Regions from separate parts of the Homo sapiens genome. Here region 1 is linked to region 2. Evidence: promoter capture Hi-C in human tissues and cell types (Jung and others, 2019). All regions are on one chromosome and are shown on one strand. Each heading gives the region's core, a stretch centred on a gene start or on the middle of the fragment in contact. The rest is flanking DNA. Distances are from core to core; before and after follow the strand shown. Region 1 overlaps DRICH1 (aspartate rich 1). Region 2 holds the start of ZNF70 (zinc finger protein 70).

Region 1 (5,132 bases), core at 2,107-4,606, 140 kb after region 2:
ACTCCTTGGGAGTGGGCACAAGGGGTATAGGCCTAAGCACTGGGTGTCATCTGTGATGAAGGGAATCTGGGGGACACAACTCTCTCACAGGCATTTCCTGGAACCTAGAGAAACAGTCCTTGTGCTGTGTGCCAAGGGGAAATCGAGAATCACCCTCTGAACTTTCAGGACTTGTTAGTGCACATTCATGTTTCTGTCCTCACTGTGCACTCCTGGTTTAAAGGGATCTCCCGGAGTGGATGGTGGAGTGAATATTCACTCTGGGGTCACTGGTAAAACTCCAGTCTCCTTTGAGGGGAGGAGAAAAGTTTGACCTTGAGCACTTTTCCAGCCTCCACTGCCCAACCCAATCACAGATTCTGAGATGTGGCTTCTTTCTCCCAGTTCTCTAATTTTTTGGGAAGCCAAAAGTTCCTTCCCACAAAAGATAGTATCACACTATTTCCTGTCTTCAAAAATTTGGCTTTGGTTTTGTTCTCTAAGTTGCTATTCATCACTTAAGTTCTAGACTTTTTTTTTTCTTTTTTTTTTTTTTTGAGATGGAGTCTCGCTCTGTCACCCAGGCTGGAGTGCAGTGGTGCGATCTCGGCTCACTGCAAGCTCCGCCTCCCGGGTTCACGCCATTCTCGTGCCTCAGCCTCCCGAGTAGTGGGGACTACAGGTGTCCACCACCATGCCTGGCTAATTTTTTGTATTTTTGGTGGAGACAGGGTTTCACCATGTTGGCCAGGCTAGTCAGGAACTCCTCAGCTCAGGCGATCTGCCCGCCTCAGCCTCCCAAAGTGCTTGGATTATAGGCATGTATCACCATGCCTGGCCAGGGTTATTTTTAATGTAATTGTGGCTATCTCAAGTAATGGTGCTTTGAGTATTTTTGTCAGTGGTTTTGGAATAACACCAGCACTCACTTTTGTGGAGTAGACTGTTAGAAGGGGGCATATCTTTCATTGTTATAAATAATGCCAAACTTTTTCCAAAATGATGACACCAATTCATGCTCCTCTAACAGCATATGTGAGTAGCCGTTTCTCCAAATCCTCACGGACTCTTAGTTTTATCTCTTTCTAAAAATTCCATCACTGTGGTTAGTCTGTCATTTGTATAACATATTACTTAAAATGTTCTCCAAAAAGAAGTGTTGTTTTACTGTAATGACGCAGCGCAGTAGGTTTGTTTACACCCGCCTCACCACAGACACGTAAGTAATGCACTGCGCCGACCTTCTAACAGGTACGACTTTACTGGGGAAAAGGAAATTTTCAGCTTTGTTATAATCTTATGGGACCACTGTCATACATGTGTTCTGTCATTGACCAAAATGTCATTCTGCTACATATGGCTGTAGTTAATAAGCAGGTGCAAGGTGGGCGGATTACGAGGTCAGGAAATCGAGACCATCCTGGCTCACACAGTGAAACCCCGTCTCTACTAAAAATACAAAACATTAGCTGGGTGTGGTGGTGGGCGCTTGTAGTCCCAGCTACTTGGGAGGCTGAGGCAGGAGAATGGCGTGAACCTGGGAGGCGGAGTTTGCAGTGAGCCGAGATCATGCCCACTGCACTCCAACCTGGGTGATAGAACGAGATTCCATCTCAAAAAAAAAAAAAAAATGAATGAAAATAAGAACAGCCATAAATTGGGTATGTGGGCACTTCTGTATGTTGTCTCCTTGAAGTGTCACAATCACTTTGAGACAGAATTAGTTTTGTTTTAGTCATTATACAGATGGGGAATGTGGGTCTCAGTTAAGTAAATTACTCAGGAGACACGCCAAGAGCTGGATCTCTTTAACGCCAAAGGTTAACCTATAAACTAACGTGCTACACCGCCTGTACTGGCAAAATAGAATTACCATAAAATGAAATTTGCTTCCACAACTGGGCATGTGAGTTCGGTGAGGCTGGTGTTACCCATTGCTCCATGGGTCAGAAATTGGTCTTGCTGAAGCTTGGAAGGAGAAGCTCTTGGCTCAGGGAGTGAAAAGTTACTGACAGGTTATATGAGTGCAATTGAAGGGTTATGCGTCCATAGAGCATGTGATGGAATGAGAACAGAGAGAATCAAAGAGAATCACCCAGAGCAGACTCTGTCTCAAAAAAAAAAAAAAAAATTTTGCCCATCTAATAATAGGTTAAAAATTAGATACAGTCAACCACACTGGGTCTTACTATGTAAAAAAAAAAAAGAGTGCTTTTAGACAGTGATAGGAAAGAAGAAAAAAATTAAAATAGTTGATGTGTTCTATGTGGGACTGTGGAATAAACTGCTTTTAAGTAGAGTTTTGTATGAAGTTCTTTAGGCAATAAGTAAAAATGGAAGGGAAACCTAACAGCAGAGAGCAGCCAGGACCACAGTTGCCTGTGGATGCAGAGACTGTGGTGGAGCCTGGAATGCCAAAGACCACGAGTCCCCGCGGGCAGTCAGTTCAGTGACAGCATCACCAATTATCTGATCGGCAGGCACCCCAGTAGCACATGGACAGAACAGGGAGGCCTAAGATGAGTCCAGGCCATGGAAGATCTCCAGTGAGGGGATCTTGGAAGATGTGAAAAGCATCCTGGAGGGGGAGGTAGCCCTGCAGCTTAGCGGTCCAGTTTCCCTCACTGGTCTTACTTGGTATGGCATAGAGGTGCTCACACAGCAGCCCCCAGTATCCTCCCACTTCCCTAAAGGCTTAAACACACCAAGATGTGTATCAGTTTCTTAAAGAGCACAATAGCACATTACTGAACAACCAAAATTGCAGAGAAGTGGCCTCATTTCCTGGAAGTGTTTCAGGGACGGGGAGGTGGTGAGGTGAGGAAATCCTCATGACCAAAGAAACATGAGGCCTGAGGACTGGCGGTTGGGCTCAGCCACATGGAGACCACGTCGTGCCCTACAAGAGCAATCTGGTGGTGTGGTGCTGGGGAGGAGAGACGGCCAGGGCAACAGAGCTTGTGCAGGGATTCAGAACCAGAGGGCTCCTCAGAACGGGCATAGGAGATGGTTCGTAAGGACCTGTCCCACTCCAGTGAAGGCATGAGGGGCAGGGAGGGAGGAAAGCAGCCCCACATAGGAGGATGCCCAGGGAGGGGAAGCAGGTCTTGGGAGAGCTAGGTTTCAGTCCAAGCAAGAAAGGAAAGAATGTTCCAGGGAGGGCCTCCAGAGGGCTTGGAGAAAAGGTTGCAGCAGATGGGGTCAGAAAAGGAGTATTCATGGCCTTGAGGGAGAGGTGAGCTGAGCTTCTTGCAGCCCCTGATGCAAACAGGGATGAAGGACATAGTGAGATTAGTCCTGAATCTGAGGCAGAGAGCGGTGAGGAGGCCGTGAGTTTGGGGAAGGGAGGGAAGGGCCTGGCTGGGAGAAGGCAGGGTTCTGGGCCCTCTACAGTCCTGCCAGGGAAAGTCAGAGCCCAGAGAGGCCCAGGGCTCCCTGCTGACACCTGCACAAACAGGTGTACCCCTGGTCAGGGGGTGCTCTGTAGACTGCTGTGGAGTGAGGGAGCAGCTTCTCCTGGGCACAAGACCCCAGGCACCTGCAGGATGCAGGGCTCCAGGCTCCCTCAGATGCCTGCTGATGGGTCTCCTCTGAGGGGCTGTAAACTGGCTTCCTGGGTACCCACAATGTACAAGGCACTTATTTTCAGTATGATGCCCCCGGCACTGCCAAAATCATACCCATTTATGATAGGCACAATTACTCGCCCCACTTTAGAGCTAGTGAAACTGAGGCACTGAGCAGTTAATCAACTTGCCCCAGACTCCACAGATAAACAGTCAGTGTAGAGCTGGGGGTCTCAACACAGCAGCCTCCCTCCATAGTGTGGGCTTATAGCCACTGGCTGTCCCTCTGCCCTTGTCCAAACTCAGCTGTCTGGGGTGTCAGTTTGTGCCTCTGGGCTACAGTTGAATGACCAGTTGCCTCTTCCAGGCTGGCTCCCATACCTCTCCCGACAGCAGTTTCTTAAATCCCAGAAGCTGATAACGGTAAATGGGCCTTGGAGAATGGAGGCAAGGGTGTGGGGCTCAGGACTTCTAGGTCCCAACATAGGCTGTGTTCCTGGCCCTCCCCTTGTAACAGAGGCACCTCTGTCCCTGGCTGATGAGTTTCCGCATCTGTAATTTCTCCTCAGCCTGGACTGCAGAGGCGGGAGCCCAGGGATGCTGGCGTGGAGGCTGCTTAGTGGGATGATGTCATAGTGCACAAAGCTGGGAGCCTGCTCTCACTAAAAAGGGATTATCTCTTCATCCAGGGTGAAGCCCTTCTGTGGAGCTGACCAGGGTGCTGACCCAAAGGGCAGGCCAGCGCGTGCTGCAGGGTCCCCAGCTTTGCCCCTGGAGGTCTCAATCCTCTCTACATTCTGAGGAAAACTCTTGGTCCCAGCAGAGAGAAAAAGTCCAAGGCTGCTTCCCACCCACCGCCAGCACTAGGTTTGGCCTGTACCATCCAGGACCCAGTGCTTCTGGGCCTGGCATTTCTCCTTTGGCAAGAGAGTGAGAAGAGACGTGACTGTGCTCCACGAGCAGAAAGTGCCATTCCCACTTGAAATAAAGAGACTGAGTGCATTTATTCAGGTGCAGAGGTGGCTGATCAGGTCTGACCCAATGAGGGGCTCAGGGTTTCCACTCAATGACATCGATGGCGATCTGGGTCACCTTCTATAAGGCCTCGCCCTCATAAGCCTTGCTGTCAGAGTCCTCCTCCAGGACACGGAAGGTGTGCATATGGGCCTGCAGGACCTTGCAGCCCTCAGGGGCCTCTGGCAGCATGGTGAGGGCCTTGGTGGCCTTCAGGCACACCCTGCCCATGCATGAGTGTAGCAGCTTCAGGAGCAGGCTGATGGCTTGTGCGTCCAGGGCCACCTACTTCTCGGCAGGCCACCAACACGGAATTTCTAACAGCCTGGGGGGGCCTCTTCTCACCCCCTCTCACCCTAGCCCTCTTTTGACCCTGGTGCCTGCAGAGTCTCAAAGGGAGGTGCCACCCTGTCCCACTGCTGCAGGGATTCCCTGATTCATTCATGCAGCGAGATGCTGAGGCAAGAGCTGGGTTTCCCCACCTCAGCAGTCTTTTGGGCCAGGTAATTCTCAACTTGGGGCCAAAGCTCCCCTGCTGTGACCTTTGGGTCTGGAGCAGCAAACAGAGCAAAG
Region 2 (4,889 bases), core at 444-2,943:
TTTCTCTGAGCCTTGCTTCCCCTCTGTAAAATGGGTTAATAATATTCAACATGTCAACAACAGCTATTGTGAGGGTCATAAGATCCTGGCTGAGAAAAATGACTGTGGTGGGTCTGGGAGTCGAAGACCCACTCCTGGGGTGGGGAGCAGTGTGCGGGGGAATGGGGATTCTGGGGACTGTTGTCAAAGAGGAAGCACCTGAGACTATTGGGGCATGGCCCAGACTCCCCCACCATGGCCCCCTGGGGGCTCAAACTGGTAGCCTGACCTTCCTGTGACCTGAGGAGCCGGAGGGAGAAAAAGGAACCAGCCCTTGCCGCCCCCAACTCTGCATGGCTGGTTATGGTCCAAGGGTTATGGCTCTAGGGTGGCTGGTCCCCATGGAGCTCAGGCTGTTGGCTTGGGGAGGGGCAGCCACTGCCTACCCCTTGGAGTCTGTGCCCAAGGCCCGACAGAGCATTAATGGGGCAGGAAGGCAGGTGTGTGTGGGTAGCATTGGAGGCACTCGAGCGCCAAGGCTGAGGGTGCTGAAGGCAGGTGGGCGGCTGGGGCAGAATCCTTTTTCCCAGGGACAGTGTGTTCTCCTGATGTCCTGTGATTGGGCCAAGGTCTGCGGAGGGAAGCTCTCCCACAAGCTGGGCAGCTGCACCTGAGGGGGGGGTGTCATGGGCAGAACACTGGGTGGAGGGGCCAGTCTTGCCATCAGCAGCAAGGAGGGGGCGGAGATTCCTTTTCTTTTTTTTTTTTTTGTTTTTTGAGATGGAGTCTCGCTCTGTCGCCCAGGCTGGAGTGCAATGGCACTATCTTGGCTCACTGCAACCTCCGCCTCTCAGGGTCAAACGATTCTCCTGTCTCAGTAGCTGGGATTACAGGCGCTTGTCACCACTCCCGGATAATTTTTAGTAGAAACAGGGTTTCACCATGTTGGTCTGGCTGAGTCTCGAACTCCTGACCTCGTGATCCACCCGCCTCCGCCTCCCAAAATGCTGGGATTAAAGGCGTGAGCCACCGCGCCCGGCCAAGGGGGCGGCCATTTCAAGAACACATTCCTCTTCCCTCCCGGTGCGCCTGAGAGGAGGCGCTTCATGTCGAAGTCAGCCCTGGGATGCAGAGAGTTGGGGGGCTCAGGGTCCTGGGATGGTCTCGCAGACACTCCTAGTTCTTCGCCTGCCCCTTCTCATCTCTATTTCTGTGGGGGCGGGGAGGGCAGACAGGAACAGGGCTACCCTTGAAGCAGGTTGGGGGAGGGGGATCCTAACAGGACCCCGGTGCCTGTGGACAGTGACAGGGTCGACAGCTCTGGGGCTCCACTCTCCTTTCCCTGAAGACCCCAGCTGCCTCAGTGGCTTCTGGCTTGCACCCAGCACCAGCGCAGATGCCCCGAGTGCCGGCGGCTCGAGGTCGGCCCGCCCGTCCGGACCTGTTTCCTCCTCTGCTCTCCTGCCAACGCCTGCCCATCTCTGTTTCCCCCACGTCCAGCACGCGCTTCGGGGACGGCCAGAGCCACCATGCCGACTGGAGAGACTCTCCTGATTCGGGTCCTTGTGTCCCGGGGCCCGGGCGGCTTCGCGCGGCGACAACCGGCGCGGTGGGACCACCGAGACGCCGGGACCTCCGCGCGGCCTAGAGTGGTCCCGGAAGTGCCCGCGGGCCGGGGGCGGGGCTCTGGGTGCTCGGGCGGCCGCGGGCTCCGCGTCAGCAGCTGCTGTGGAGCCAGGCAGCGTCGGCCGCGTCGGCCGCGGGTTGGAGCAGCTCAGGTGCGGCCCCGCCCCGCCCGCCTGCGGCCCCGCCCCGGCCCAGGTGAGCTGCCCCGCCCCGGCCCAGGTGAGTGGCCCCGCGTCCGCCGGTGTGACCTGAGTCCGCCTGACCACCTGTCCCTCCGGTGGCCCTGGGTGTGCGTGTCCCCAATCGCGGGGAAGCCTGTAGGGGCGCCACGTCGCCGCCTGGGCAGCGTGTGCGGGTCCGTGGCAACTCTTGGGCCCCCAGCCAGGAAACCTTGACTGCACTAAGAGTTTGCAGGGTGCCCAGGCCCTAGGGACTCTCTGGAGGATGGGATGACAGATGCAGGAGGACCCGGAGAAGGCCCCGACAGAGGTGGGAAGCATGGAGTTCCAGATCTTTGCATTTTCGGTCCAAAAACACTTATCATGTTGTGGGAGACAGATAAAGGGTTGCCAACTTTTTTCTGAGTGGAGACTTCAGGGTGTAGGGGCTATATAGTGGGAATGGAAAACCTCTACGGAGGGAAGTTTGAGAACACCAGGACTTAATGGGTGGGCGGAGGAAGAGTTGCAATCTAAAGATATCAAGAAAGAGAACTTGGAAGCCATGAAAATTGGGAAGAAAGCGAGGGTGGGGATGGGGTTGGGGGGTAGCTCAAAGCTTTCATGCACCTAGGTAGGCAATGTGGGCGGGTGAAGGGATATTGTCACATCTTCGTTTTTCAAGAGAAAGCCAGAAACCTACTGAGTTTTAAATATTGGTAACTAAGGAAAATGAACAGGAAAAGCCAAACTCTTCGAGAGCCAAACATAACATAGCAGGATCTTCAGGCTGCCAATTTGCAACCTCTGAAATGAAGGGTTTTGAGAAGGAGGTATTGGAGAGCAGTGCCAGATGGGGTGGGAAGGTGAAGACCGAGAAGAGAGGGATTGGCAATAAGGAGGTCATAGAATGCCAGAGCTGAGGTCCCAGCTGAAATCGGAAACTCGAAATTTGTCGTGGTGCCATACATAGTTGTATGATTTTTCTTGGCAACATTTAACAACTTAGGAGGAACTGGCCGAGAAGACTGGGACTTAGCGGCTAGTTGCAGCCGGACGAGGAGGTGAGGAGCATGGTGCTAGAGCGTGAGAGTTGAAGTGATGCGCATAGTATGGAGAGTCTAAGCTGGATGGAGAAGGGGTGGAGCTAGAAAAGGAGAACTACAGTAAAAATGGCTTGGATTTCATGAGGTCGAAAAGCACAAATTGAGTGAGAGAGCTGGAAGAGTTGGAGATTATGGGTTGCTGAAGAGGAGGGGGAGGGTGAGAGGAGTTGAAGTGATCAAAGAATTTTTGAAAATACTTTAGGGCTGGGCGAGGGGGCTCACGCCTATAATACCAGCACTTTCGGAGGCCAAAATGGGTGGATCGCATGAGCTCAGAAATTCGAGACCAGTCTGCACAACATGGCGAAAACCCATCTCTACAAAAAATACAAAAATTAGCCAGGTGTGGCACGTGCCTGTAGAGCCTGTATTCCCAGCTACTTTTTTTTTTTTTTTTTTTTTTTTTTTGAGACGGAGTCTCGTCCTGTCGCCCAGCCTGGAGTGCAGTGGCGCGATCTCGGCTCACTGCAAGCTCCGCCTCCTGGGTTCACGCCATTCTCCTGCCTCAGCCTCCCAAGTAGCTGGGACTACAGGCACCTGCCACCACGGCCGGCTTTTTTTTTTTTTTTTTTTTTTTTTTTTTTTTTGAGATGGAGTCTCGCTCTGTTACCCAGGCTAGAGTGCAGTGGCGCGATCTCGGCTCACTGCAACCTCCGCCCCCCAGGTTCAAGCGATTCTCCTGCCTCAGCCTCCCGGAGTAGCTGGGATTACAGACGCGCTGTAATTTTTGTAATTTTAGTAGAGACGGGGTTTCACCATCTTGGCCAGGCTGGTCTTGAACTCCTGACCTCATGATCCACCCACCTCGGCCTCCCAAAGTGCTGGGATTAGAGGCGTGAGCCACCGCGTCCGGCCTTTTTTGTATTTTTAATAGAGACAGGGTTTCACCGTGTTAGCCAGGATGGTGTCCTAGCTACTTAAGAGGCTGAGATAGGAGAATCACTTGAACCCAGGAGCCAGAGGTTCCAGTGAGCTGTAATCACACTACTGCACTCCATTCTGGAAAAAGAAAATACTTTAGTTCAGTGCTCTTTTTTTTTTATATCCAGTCGGTCTATTGGCTGAAAAATCATTTAAAAAAATCATTTCTGGGCTGGGCGTGGTGGCTCACACCTGTAATCCCAGCACTTTGGGATGCCAAGGTGGGCGGATCACCTGAGGTCAGGAGTTCGAGACCAGCCTGGCCAACATAGTGAAACCCCATCTCTACTAAAAATACAAAAATTATCCGGGCCTGGTGGCGGGTGCCTGTAATCCCAGCTATTCAGGAGGGTGAGGCAGGAGAATTGCTTGAACCCAGGAGGCAGAGGTTGCAGTGAGCCGAGATTGGGCCATTGCACTCCTGGCTGGGCAACAAGAGTGAGACTCCACCTCAAAAAAAAAAAAAAATCATTTCTGCTGGGCATGGTGGCTCATGCCTGTAATCCAGCACTTTGGGAGGCAGAGGTGGGAGGACTGCTTGAGCCCAGGAGTTCAAGACCAGCCTGGGCAACATAATATTATCTCATCTCTACAGAAAAATTAAAAAATTAGCTGGATGTGTTGATATGCCCCTGTAGTCCCAGCTACTTGAGAGGCTGAGGTTGGAGGATCAGTTGAGCCGGGGAGGTCAAGGCTGCAGTGAGCTGTGATTCTACTCCTGCACTCCAGCCTGGGTGACAGAGTGAGACCCTGTCTCAAAAAAAATTTTTTTTTCCAAGTAGAAATGAGTTCTGTTATGACTGTTCTGATTAATTTAGTTTTTTTTTTTTTTCTGAGGCAGTTACTCTCTAGATGCAGTATAAGGATAATTGTGCCTTTGTATAGAGTTGTGAAGATTAAATGAGGTGCCTTGAAGGACCTATTAGTGCCTAGCACAGAGTAGGTGCTCAGTGAATATGAGCTGTTGCTATCATTATTGTGTCACCTGAAGACTTTGCCTTTATCTAGCACAGAAGTTTCTGAATAGGGCTCTTTGGGGCTTCCTCAGGGGCCACATCTGGGAGGGGGAGTGCTGAGTGGGCTGTTCTAGCTTCCTTCC

The links. Contacts are between HindIII fragments. The study calls those that stand out against the background at their distance.
Region 1: a contact is called between a fragment that was not itself captured here and the fragment with the promoter of ZNF70 in region 2, in 1 of the 25 tissues and cell types used here (lymphoblastoid cells).

Annotation. Positions count from the first base shown.
Region 1 is chr22:23,607,871-23,613,002 of GRCh38, reverse strand. It overlaps DRICH1 (aspartate rich 1), which reads left to right. Exons shown (of 12, transcript NM_016449.4): 12 at 4,235-4,551. The coding sequence ends at 4,239. Among named protein-coding and RNA genes, the nearest start is that of DRICH1, 22 kb to the left of the region's middle. The HindIII fragment of the contact is 7,781 bases long and covers 1-5,132 here.
Region 2 is chr22:23,747,916-23,752,804 of GRCh38, reverse strand. It overlaps ZNF70 (zinc finger protein 70), which reads left to right and starts at 1,693. Exons shown (of 2, transcript NM_021916.4): 1 at 1,693-2,094. It overlaps VPREB3 (V-set pre-B cell surrogate light chain 3), which reads left to right. Exons shown (of 2, transcript NM_013378.3): 2 at 1-62. RefSeq lists enhancers at 418-477, 1,318-1,377, 1,260-1,935 and a silencer at 1,528-1,977. The HindIII fragment of the contact is 11,413 bases long and covers 1-4,889 here.